2 separate regions of the Homo sapiens genome follow, and region 2 is linked to region 1. Evidence: promoter capture Hi-C in 16 types of primary human blood cells and fetal thymus (Javierre and others, 2016). All regions are on one chromosome and are shown on one strand. The core of a region is centred on a gene start or on the middle of the fragment in contact, and the rest is flanking DNA. Distances in the headings are between cores, read along the strand shown. Region 1 holds the start of RAP1GAP (RAP1 GTPase activating protein). Region 2 holds the start of LDLRAD2 (low density lipoprotein receptor class A domain containing 2).

Evidence for each region. Contacts are between HindIII fragments. The CHiCAGO score rates a contact against its expected background, and 5 or more counts as called.
Region 2: the fragment with the promoter of LDLRAD2 here is called in contact with the fragment with the promoter of RAP1GAP in region 1 in 1 of 17 cell types (erythroblasts); the score reaches 5.6 in erythroblasts.

What each region holds. Positions count from the first base shown.
Region 1 is chr1:21,666,579-21,672,732 of GRCh38, forward strand. RAP1GAP (RAP1 GTPase activating protein) reads right to left here and starts at 2,779. Exons shown (of 25, transcript NM_002885.4): 1 at 2,676-2,779. RefSeq lists a silencer at 2,701-2,850 and an enhancer at 3,499-4,698. The HindIII fragment of the contact is 8,301 bases long and covers 1-4,320 here.
Region 2 is chr1:21,809,210-21,815,363 of GRCh38, forward strand. LDLRAD2 (low density lipoprotein receptor class A domain containing 2) reads left to right here and starts at 3,056. Exons shown (of 5, transcript NM_001013693.3): 1 at 3,056-3,327; 2 at 5,189-5,614. The coding sequence starts at 3,243. RefSeq lists silencers at 1,542-1,692, 5,421-5,540 and an enhancer at 2,847-3,141. The HindIII fragment of the contact is 31,080 bases long and covers 2,221-6,154 here.

The sequences.
Region 1 (6,154 bases), core at 1,529-4,028:
CAAGCTGGGTCCACATGAATCAGAAAAGAGGGAGGAAGGGGAGGCTTTGCTGGGGACGGTCGGGGGCCTCCACTCCCCTCCCCGGGTGATGAAGCATTAACATCCCACACGCAGGAAGCTGATGTAATTCATGCGTGTGTGCACCCATGATGGCCTGGGTGTGGGTGGGTGCATGTGCGTGTCTGCCAGGTTCATTTTTAAGGGCGTAGGGCATCCTCGTGTTCTTCCTGCATGCGCGTGTACCATGTGTGCACCCTGGAGGAGATAATGGAGGCAGACGACAGAAGACGAGGGCTTCTGAAAAGGCTCTTCTCCTTGCTGACAACCTCCGTCTCTCTGTGTGTACACACGTGCCAGCATCTGGATGGTGTGACTCTCAGTGCTTGTGTGTCAGGCAGAGTCGGGGGCAGGGGTCTTGGCCTGGGTGTGCCCGTGTGTTCCTGTGTCTGGGTCTCAGGGTATCTGTCAGTCTAACTGTATTTGCGTTTGTGTCTGGCCGTGCTCAGGTCTCGGTTGTTTGCACAGCACATGCGGCTGCTCAGCAGCCTCTGACAGCCAGGACAAAGGCCTCCGTAGACAGATGGCAGCATGGAGGACAGATCTGCCCGAGGAGTCCTCAAAGGGCCTCTTGGCCCCAGAATTTGACAGCAGGGCAGGGGCAGGGCCAGGTGAGAGGGAGGTGGAGGCCCTGCTGTGGGAGCCTGAGGCCTAAGTGGCAGAGACCTCTCTCCCTGCTGCCCTCCAAGAGGCCAAAGGAAGAATCCTTCTTGTCTCCTAAGGGTGGAAGGTAGTTAGAGCCAGGAGAGGGGCCTCCTGAGACCCCTGCCAGGCAGGCACCTTGGGAAGAAGAGAAGAGGAGAGGGCTTTGCCCAAGCAAGCTGGGAAGGTCCCAGGGTGAAAGCACCATTATGGTGCTCCACGGGACAACCCTCCCTCCATGGGAAGGGGTGGCAAGGCAAGCCTAGGACTCTGGACCCTCTCCTCAACCTGACCCAGCTTCCAGCCACAGGCACCCTCACCTCCTGGCAGCAAAGGGGAGCAGGTCCACATGGACCACTCCACCACGGCGTTCACCCTTCCTCCTCTCCACCGCTGTGGAGATCTTCTCCCATCAAGAGTCAGAGTACCACGATTCTAGACCTTGCTGAAGGTGACTAGGTGACCTCAGGCAGTTCATTTAGCCTCTCCGAGCCTCAGTTTCCTCACCTGTGCAATGGAGGCTTCAGCGCCTGCCCTGAAATATTGCTGTGAAGGGGGAAATTGCTCGTGCCACCTGAGGATTAATCATTACCCTGGAACCCTTCCCAAGGCCATCAAGGAACACGCACCCCTTACCAGACCTTCCAGCTGCTGGGGGCTCTCAGAGTGAGGCTGAGGTCATGGAGAAGGGAATGGGGGGCCCCCATGGCCAGCTGGACCTGATCACTGCCTCCCCACTCAGCCACAGCCCTCAGGGCCCTGTGCCAGTCCAGAAGCCCATTCAGGGACACCTTTGGCCAATGTTCTGTTTCATCTGCGAGGCAACCTTCCCCAGTGCCCCAACCATAGCGTTTTCCCCCAAACACCCTCAGGAAGGAGGGACCACTACCTGTGCAGGGGGGGCCAGGAGCCTCCTGAGAGCCTCATATGGGGAGGAAGTGGTACCATCTCACCCCCATTGCCTTTCTCTCCTACTTCCACCTGGCCAGCTTCCCTCAGTGCCCCTCCTGCCTCAGTGCCCCTTCCCTCAGTGTCCTTCCTGCCTGCCGCCCCAGGGGCCTGACCTCTGACTTGGCAGGGAGGGGAATGGAGCCCGGGGACAGAGGCCAATGAGCCCTGAGAACAGTGGATGTTCTTCCTGACCCCACCACCGGGCCTGTGCTATGACCCCAACAAGGACTCCGAGGGCATGCACAGGCTGGGGTCTGTTATGGTAGGGAGGGGGCCGCTCACCTCCGGAGACTGTGTGTGTGTGCAGGTGTGCGTACACAAGGTTTCTTCCCCAAGCCCAGGCGCCCCGCAGCTGGCACCAAACCCTGCAGGGCACGGAAACCGCCCCGTGAATTCCCACCGAGTCCTCAGATCCTGCCGAGCCAGGGGAGGCGACGAGGGGGCGCCCAACTTCGTGACGCGTGTGCCCCGCTCTGCCGCGGGGGTCAGGGACAGGGGAATGCGTCCTGTCTCTGGGGATGCAAGGACATCACCGCCCTCCCCGCTCAGGGTCCTTGATCTGAGGCCCCCACTTCCCTCCTCTGAGGACAGGAGCGCCACCCTCTGGGGGGCGCTAGGGCTTGGGCCCCTCCCCAGGGATGGAGGAAACGCGCCCACTTCCCACAGTCCCTCCTCTAAACCCCAGGCGCCCCCACCTCGAGGTGGGCGGAAAACTGGACTCCCCACCCACCCAGGGGGGTGGGACCAAAGCCCCCTGGCCGCGGCCTGGACCAAGTCCAACAGGCTGGGGGTTCAGCCGGCTCAGTCCAGGCCTCCCCCCACTTCTCCAGCTGCTGTCAAGACCGGGCTGCGCGAGCCCAGCTGCGCCCACCCCTCGCCCCTGGAGACCCGGGTCCCCCACGCGTTCGCCCCCACCCTCCGTCCCCGCCCGCCCGCGCGGGGTCTTCGCTGCGAGCCGACGGGAGTCTGGACACCTCTGTCCCCTTCCCCTTTCCAGGGCCGCAGCCCTGGCGGGGCGCACTCACCCAAGGGCCTGGGCCGGGGGCGTCCTGGGCTCGGCACTCTGGTGCCCGCGGCCGCCGCTGCAGCTCTGCTCAGATGCGGCCGGCGCTCGCCGCCGCCGCAGTTCGGGGAGGGGGACGTCACATGACCGCGGAGCGCTCCTTCCCCGGCGCCGCTCCCCACTCACTGCGGAGCCCAAGCCGCGGGCGCGGGAGCGGCGGGGAGGCCCCCGCCCTGCCGCCCCGCCCCGCCGCAGGTCCTGGAGGAGGGTTCTCGGTGCCCCCATTTTACAGGTGGGGAAACTGAGGACCAGAGAGGGGCAGGGACTGGCTCAAGGTTACACAGCTAGACAGTGGCAGAACCTGGGCGACAGCCCAGCTGTCCAGGCAACAGCTCATGCTCCAAGGGGACTGGGACAACTTCTGGATCAAGTGGAGACGTCGGGATAGGTGGGGCCCACGGCCCCCATGGGCTCCGCTTGTCTGCAGGCGCGGGAGGAAGGCGCACAGGCTTCGCTGGGCGAGAAAGCTGCTGTGCCCTGGCTGACGCCCTCCTCACCCGGGCGCTCGGCGCGCTTCCTGGCAGAGGCCACGCGGTTGACCCTCGCCAGCCCATTCGCGGCTCTTGGACTTTGTCTCTGGACTGGGCAGCTCGCCCCCGCCCCAGCCTAACCCGGGCCCAGGGCGGGTGTGGGGAGGGGAGCCACAGGCTACGGAGAAGTGGAAGGGAGGCACCCGGAAGAGAGTGGGATCAGAACAAGAGTGAAAACCCAGGCAGGGAGGGGGCGGCAGAGATCACCTCGGCCTGACTTCCAAGGCCCAGGGAGAGTTAGAGACTTGCCCAAGGTCCACAGCAAGTGAGCGGCCTGCCCACTCGAGTCCCTTCTTTGATGGTCAACAGAGCCTGAGGCTCCTGTGCCCCACTCCCCACCAAGGGGGAGCCCTCACCCACACCTCTTTCTGTTCTCCACTGAGCTCCCTCCCCGGGGAACAGCCCACATGAAGCAAAGAAACACGCAGTGGGTCGGCAAGGCCAGAACTGGGGACAACGGGTGAGGGGTATGGTTGGTGGCTCCAAGGTCATGAACTCGTCACAGAACACTCGTGTTCCAGGGGGATCTCTGAAATCTCTGGATCTCACCCCAATGTTCTAAGAACTGGGAAAACAGGCTGCAAAAGGTACAAAGACAGACCTCTTTCTCAACCATTTCGAATTGGTGGGTCAAGCCGACAGGGCCCTCCAAGGTCAACAAGTCCAATAGGCCCACTTGACAGATAATATTTAGGGAGGGGAAAGTCCAAGACATGTACTCAATATATTTCTTGAGCATCTACTGTGTGCTTAAAACCACAACTGTTACTTCCAGCTCCCACTATTTTCCCGGCCACATGGGCTGCATTTCACAAAAGGAAAGATCCGAGGTCTTCAGCAACTCTTACATCAGCCTCTGGAGGATCTGAGACATGCAAGCCTCCGGGTTTTCAGTCCCATAGGGGCTGGGGACCAGAGCCATGTTTTCCGGTCAAGACTCTAATCCCCGTGGAGAAAAGGTGAATAAGGGGGAATAGCAGGAAATGCCCCACCCTCTTCCCACGCATCCACCCACCTGTGAAAGGGCAGAGGGGAAGGTAGATCAGGCACTTGTTCTTTTCAGTCCTCCCTCCAGCAAGCTTCCCTAGCTGTATATGGGAAAGAGACCCCAGCCCAGGGGGGTTTCTCAAACTTCTAAGAGTGCAGGAGCGGTCTGTAGACTCAGATTCAGATTCAGTGGGCCTGGAGCCTGAGCTCCTGCATTTATAATGAAGCTTCGTGGCTGCAGACATCCTGAGCAGCACTGGTAGTACAAGGCAAGTTGTCAGGGCAGGAGGAAGACTCCTGCGGTATCACATGCTCACTCATGGACCACCCAACCCGGGGGGCCCTTTGATCTCCTGCCTAGGAATACACCAGGACTATATAGTTGGCTCAAACACTGTAATAAAAAGGCAAGAAGTTGAATGAGGCTGGCCGAGGCGCTTCTGGGGATGATGGTGAAGGGACTGTGGGGCATAGCAACTGCCCTAGACAGGTATGTCCTGCAGGGCTCTGGTCCTGGGAGATGCTTGGTCAAATACATCCTACTTAGGAAATGCCAGCAGAATGCCTATAGACCTTCAAGGGCAGCATGTACTGGGTGGGGCTGGCTCATCTTCAGCAGGGGCGGGGCTCACAGATCTCAGAAGTACATGGATTCCAGGATCCTTTTAAGCACCATCTCTCTACCCATCCTCTCGCTTTTTTATGCATTGCTCCCTGAATTCAATTCTGAGCACAATCTTCATGCTTCTTGCTTCCCTAACTCCTGTTCCAAAAGGGCCCCTTTCTCCTCCACGCTTTAAGACAGAGACCCTCAATTCTGGCCAGGCATTGCTGATGGTACATCCCAGAGTGCTGAGTGGAGACAAAGGTGTCCCACCTGAGCTGGAGGGAGGGGGCAGATGGAGGCACTGGAGATGCAGAAATGCAGCAAGCCAAGGGGTACAGCTGTGTGACCTCTTCATGGTCCCATAACCTTCTGGAGTCTGGACCTGCAGACTCCAAGGTCCTTAAGAGCTCAAGAGCCTATTAGCCTGGGGGTACTGAATGTCCCCGACCCTGGCTGAGCAGACCAAAGAACGAAGTCTCTTCTATGCCAGGCGTCTCTATTTCTTCTTTATAATCAAGGAGCTTTTCAATTACAGCATTTTCCCCTTTACAGAAAACCTCCCTCAATGCAAGAGGCTTATAATCTCCCATGTGTCCTGGGGGGCACCATTCTGAGACTGTCAGGGCCCCTGGCGAGGAGGCAGCACGTGCCGTAGGGGGCTGGGCACAGAGCTTGGCATGCAGCCTAGCTACTGAGGGGGAAGATTGGACAAAGGCCCCGGAGCTTTGCTTTCCCTGTCCTATTTCAATCCAAACCACTCAGGACTGACCACTCACGCATGGCTGCCTCTGGGCACAAGCCTTGTCTCAGACACTTAATACATTGCGACCCAGCCACCATCTCTGTGCTCCCTATCACTGAGAAATGAAAGCTGGCTTTAAAAATCTGGCATCCAAAAAGGCTGGAGAACGAAAACATGGGTGGCACCACGGTAAACTCCAAATAATGCATGAGACTGCAGGTGAGGGAGGGGGGAACAGTCCTAAAATGGGAATGATGCCTCTTGGAAATAACTCCCCATCTCTGCCCGCCCACTCCTTCCCAGTCAGATCAAATGGGAGAAAAACTGAGATAGGAACTGCCCACCAGAGCAAGTAGGGGAAGAAAACCCCAAAGCAGCAAGTCCTCAAGGTGTGCTGTCCACAGAGCCACAGGTAAGGTCTAGGAAAGGCCGGCAAGGAGGGTGGGCTTCAGGGGCGGCTTGGAGCAGAGGACAGTTCCACTCTAACCACAGCAAGGCAGGATGAAGAGTGGCAGTCGGCGCCAGGGCACACGCATCAGGGAAGGGCCAGCGGCCCCCGTCTGGGTGGGAGGCTG
Region 2 (6,154 bases), core at 1,806-4,305, 140 kb after region 1:
TCGCCCAGGCTGGAGTGCAGTGGCTCGATCTCGGCTCACTGCAACTTCTGCCTCCTGGGTTCAAGAGATTCTCCTGCCTCAGCCTGCCGAGTAGCTGGGATTACAGGTGTGTGCCACCACGCCTGGCTAATTTTTTGTATTTTTTTGTAGAGATTGGGCTTCACCATGTTGGCCAGGCTGCTGTCGAACTCCTGACCTCAGGCAAAGTGCTGGGATTACAGGCCCAGGTTGGTCTTGAACTCCTGGTTTCAAGCGATCCTCTCACCTCAGGCTCCCAAAGTGTTGAGATTAAAGGTGTGAGCCTTGCACCTGGCCAGTCTTAGCCATTCTAAGTGTACAGTTCAGTAGTGTTAAGTATTTTCACAGTACTGTGCAACAGATCTCTAAAACATTTTCATCTTGCAAAACTGAAAGTTTATAACCATTCTTACTTTTGCAAATTTTATGAAGACATATAATCCCGGCCGGGCGCGGTGGCTCACTCCGGTAATCCCAGCACTCTGGGACGCCGAGGTGGGCGGATCACCTGAGGTCAGGAGTTCGAGACCAGCCTGACCAACATGGTGAAACCCCCATCTCTACTAAAAATAAAAAATTAGCTGGGTGTGGTGGCACACACCTGTAGTTCCAGCTACTCGGGAAGCTGAGGCAGGAGAATCTCTTGAACCCGGGAAGCAGAGGTTGCAGTGAGCTGATATCATGCCACTGCACTCCAGCCTGGGAGGTTGCAGTTAGCTGAGATCATGCCACTGCACTCCAGCCTGGGCAACAGAGTGAGACTCCATCTCAAAAAAAAAAAAAAACAAACAAAAGGTCGGGCGCGGTGGCTCACGCCTGTAATCCTAGCACTTTGGGAGGCTGAGGTGGGTGGATCACAAGGTCAGGAGATCAAGACCAGTCTGGCTAACACGGTGAAACCCCATCTGTACTAAAAATACAAAAAATTAGCCGGGCGTGATGGCGGGTGCCTGTAATCCCAGCTACTTGGGAGGCTGAGGCAGGAGAATGGCGTGAACCCGGGAGGCGGAGCTTGCAACAAACCAAGATTGCGCCACTGCACTGCAGCCTGGGCGACAGAGCAAGACTCAGTCTCAAAACAAAAACAAAAACAAAAACAAAACAAAACAAAAACCATATAATCCCATGCAGGTGATGAGTTCTGAAGTTTAAGCTTCAGTGGGCTTCATGATAAATTCATTCTTGCTGAGGGAAGATTTGAGTCTTTTTGGAGTTCCCCAAGGTACAGATTTGGACATCATACACTGTAGGAAATCAAGGTTGCATCAAATGACCGCTCCAGGAGGGAGAGCTGTTAGGGAATAATAGGTCCAGAGGTGTTTGTTTTGGGTTTTTTTTTTTTTTTATTTTATCGCCCAGGTTGGAGTGCAGTGGTGCAATCTCGGCTCACTGCAATCTCCGCCTCCCGGGTTCAAGCGATTATTGTGCCTCAGCCTCTGTGCCACAACGCCCGGCTAATATTTGTATTTATAGTAGAGATGGGGTTTCACCATGCTGGCCAGGCTGCTCTCGAATTCCCAACCTCAGGTGATCGCCTGCCTTGGCCTCCCAACGTGATGGGATTACAGGTGTGAGCCACTGTGCCCGGCCAGGTCCAGAGGTCTTAACCTTCTCATGGATTCCTGGGATTTTGAGGTGGTGTCTCAGGCACTGCCAATTTGGGCTGCTTAGCTCCTCCCCTCCCCCACACTTGAAACATCTGCTTAAATAATAACGATGACATTAATGATCATCATTCAAGCTGAAATACATTGGTTACTTTACTACATGATAGACACTATTCCAAGTACCCCACTTGTATTAAGTTACTTAATTCTTTTTTTTTTTTTTTTTTTGAGATGAAGTCTCACTCTGTTGCTCAAGCTGGAGTGCAGTGGCACAATCTCAGCTCACTGCAACCTCCACCTCCCGGATTCAAGCGATTCTCCTGCCTCAGCCTCCTGAGTAGCTGGGACTACAGGAATGCACCACCATGCCCGGCTAATTTTTTTTGTATTTTTAGTAGAGATGGGGTTTCACTATGTTGGCCAGGCTGGCCTTGAACTCCTGACCTTGTGATCCACCCACCTCTGCCTCCCAAAGTGCTGGGATTACAGGCATGAGCCACCAAGCCAGGCCAAGTTACTTAATTCTTACAATGCAACTATGTGGTTGGAATTAATCATTATCCCATTTTCCAGAGAAGGATGCCAGGGCTTGAAAAGCTTCAGTTTTATAGATAAAGGTTCCTTGTAACATACCTTTTGAAAAAAAATTGTTCTACTAATAACACGTTTTGAAAAAGTCTGAATTAGTCCAGGGTATTTATTTTACACATGGGAAAGTAAAATCCAGAAAAAGGGGTCATTTGTTCAATGCCACACACTTATTCTTTCATTATTTCCTGGGCGCCTGCCTTGTGCCAGTGACTGTGCTATGACATAAGGGTTCAGAGGTAAACAAGATACTCATGGAATATAATTTTAGTGGAGGCCAGTGGACAATATATACAAGAAGAAATGAATAGGCAAAATAATTCCAGACAGTGCTGGGATGATACATTTGAGATGTGATTGAGTGACAAAGAGAGAGAGTGTTAATTTAGTTGGAGAGGTGGTCAGGAGAGTGTGGTCTGTGGAGGTAACATGTGAGCCACAACCTGATGACCTGAAGAAGTCAGCCGTGCACTGCTATGGGGGGACAACACTCCAGACAGAGGGATCTATGAGTGCAAAGGCCCTGAGGCAGGAATGGCTTGTTAGTAATACAGCAGACTCCTGGTCCAGTGCTCCTTCTCTGCCTGCTGCTCTCTAGGCCCTCAGAGAGGCTCCTTTGGTGTCCTGGACCTCCCTCAAGCTCAGTCCCTAAGGGGCCAGCTGATCTAGGAAGGTAGCAGATCTGGCTTCCTGTGGGTCCTCCTCCCAGAAGCCCTATGGCTGAACCGGATCTGAGTTTCCTGGTTCCTGTCTGGCAGAAGGGGAGCAGATCTCCTCCCTGCCTCCTCTCCCCAGGCTCTAGCCCTTGCTCCAAATCTCCATGGCAACCCCTGGACACAGTTCTGAACCAAATGAAGAGGATCTGGAAGGCAAAGCACTAAGATCATAGTGAAGACTTGCCTCCCCCTTCTCCTTGTGTCCCACCAGCCTCCCTGCTGGCCTGACCAGGCCCCATACTCCAGTCTCCCCAGAGACCCCAAGCTGAAGATTCTGTGGGTCTGCCCCATTGCTGGGCACAGCAGAGCCTGGATGGAGGCTTGTTGTCTTCTGCAGTTGCCCCAAAGGTTGCTCTTGCTGGGGGCAGCCGCCCTGACTGCAACTGCTTTGGAGACAGGTAAGTATCAGGGGGCTTGGTTGGGGCACCCAGAAGACTTGGGCCCCCACCATCCTTAGAGACTATGTTTCCCCAGTCAGCACTCATCCTGCTGGGCTGAGACCTTTTGAGCTGGGGGAGGCTGGGAAACTGTGTCTGGTCTTGCTTGGCATCCCCAAATCCAACCCAAAGCCTTCTGGAAGGCTTGGATCTGCCAGTCACCTAGAAGCAGGAGTCTGGGAGTGGGCAGGACAGCCCTCAGGGCCTGCTTTGCAAAACTCTGTAGGCTTCGGATTCAGAGAAGCTGCATTTACACACTCTGCCACTTCTTATGTTTGTACCTTTGAGATCATTGTTTCAACTCTCTGAATTTCTTTGGCAGTAAAATGAAAATAATAGGCCCTTGCCCCTTAAGGGACTATGATTATTGGCATATAAGATGAGATAAGTCATGCAAGGCACTTCATAATACCTGGCACATAAAAGGTGCCAAATTCCCGGCTGGGCGCAGTGGCTCACGCCTGTAATCCCAGCACTCTGTGATGCCGAGGCGGGCGGATCATGAGGTCACGAGATCAAGACCATCCTGGCCAACATGGTGAAACCACATCTCTACTAAAAATACAAAAATTAGCTGGGCATGGTGGCATGTGCCTGTAATCCCAGCTACTTGGGAGGCTGAGGCAGGAGAATCGCTTGAACCAGGGAGTCGGAGGCTGCAGTGAGCCGAGATTGCGCCACTGCACTCCAGCCTGGCAACAGAGAGAGACTCCGTCTCAAAGAAATAAAAAAAAAAAAGGGTGCCCAATTCCCTTACTCTCTAAACTCCATGCCTGCCCTGTGTACCTTCAGGGTAGGCTCTGGCTTTAGCAGAGAAATACCAAATATTGGAAAGTGCTCCCACATCCTGAGCTCTGATGAAGGATTTTTTCCTCAAAGACCCACATCCTGGCTGGTCCTCAAGTACCCACTGGTCCCTATCTTGCACCAGAAAACCCACCTCCTCTTTCCTCTCTGTGCTTACAGAAATCAGGGCTACTTTGAGTACTTGCACATCTTCTCATTTAATCCTCACAACAACCCTGTACCAGTGAGGATGTTTTGGGCTGTAAGTAACAGATAACAAACTAAATGGGGCTTAAATGGTAGGATATTTGCTATTTCAGTTAAGAGTGGTCATAGGTGATTCCAGAGATGGTTAACTCAACGGCTCAACAATGTCACTGTTCCTCTGAAATGCTCTGACCTCATCTTTGCAAAATGGCTGCTGCAGCTCTGGACATCCCATCCTCATCCTCAGTCAGCAGCTTTCAAAAGCAGGAAGAAAAGGGGCTCCTTATCACACAGCTCTCCCCCTCCCCTTTTTTTTTTTTGGTGACGGAGTCTCGCTGTGTTACCCAGGCTGGAGTGCAGTGGCTTGATCTCAGCTCACTGCAACCTCCGCCTCCAGAGTTCACGCGATTCTCATCCTCAGCCTCTCGATTAGTTGGGATTACAGGTGCGCACCACCATGCCCGGCTAATTTTTTGTATTTTAGTAGAGATGGGGTTTCACCATGTTGGCCAGGCTGGTCTCGAACTCCTGACCTCAGGTGATCCACCTGCCTTGGCCTCCAAAGTGCTGGGATTACAGGCGTGAGCCACTGCGCTCGGCCCCGCATCTTAGGGTTTCGAATAAGGGATTGTAGATTTGAATTAAATTAAATTAAATCATTTAATCCTTACAATCATTCTGAGATTGATTAATCATCCCCATTTTACCGATGAGGAAAATGAGGCTCAGAGAGGGCGAGTAACTCGCTTGGGATCACACAGCGGGCAGGGGACAGAGTAGAGTTCGGGGTCGCGCCGCGCGGCTCCAGTTTCCGTGCCTTCCGCTGCAGCCGACCTGGCGGAACTGTGCGGGCAGACGTGGCAGGGGGACGGGCTGCTGCTGCGCTCGCACGCCGCATCGCGCAGGTTCTACTTCGTGGCTCCGGACACCGACTGCGGGCTCTGGGTGCAGGCGGCAGCCCCCGGCGACCGGATCCGCTTCCAGTTCCGCTTCTTCCTGGTCTACAGCCTGACCCCCGCGCCCCCGGCGCTCAACACCTCCTCCCCGGCCCCGGCCGACCCGTGCGCCCCCGGCTCCTACCTGCAGTTCTACGAGGGCCCGCCGGGGGCGCCCCGGCCCCTGGGGTCCCCACTGTGCGGCCTGAACATCCCGGTGCCTGTGGCATCCTCCGGACCCTTTCTAGGCCTGCGCCTGGTCACGAGAGGCCGCCAGCCCCGCGTGGACTTCGTGGGCGAAGTCACCTCTTTCCGTCTGGGTGAGCTGGGGCTGAAGGCCGGGACGGGACCCTCTGCAGAGGCCATGCGGGACTGGGGCCACAGTGGGGGCCCCGGTGAGGGCCGCTGCCGACAGGGGAATGGCAGGGGTGCCCGAAGCACAAGATGGCAGGGACTGGGTCCAACGGGAGGGAAGAAGGTGGTGGCTAGTGGCAGAGTCACAATAAGGGACCTCCCGGATCCTAAGAGCCAACCATATAAATCTGGCTACCATGGATGTGTGCGTCAGACTGTCCTACCAGCCCCAGTGCGCACACACATCCACACACATCCACACACAACTTCCTCCCCACACACATTCACACACAACTCCCACACGTTCACACCTCACACTCTGACATCCACACCCATGTCACATACGCACAACCCACGCACCTCATCGCCCCCACACACTCCACACTCATGCCTCTCACTGCAGCACACGCCTCACACTGCACACTCACCATCACACACCTCATATGCACACAGTACCGCCTTGCACACTTACACACAGCTCACATGCTCTCATGCCACATGCTGGC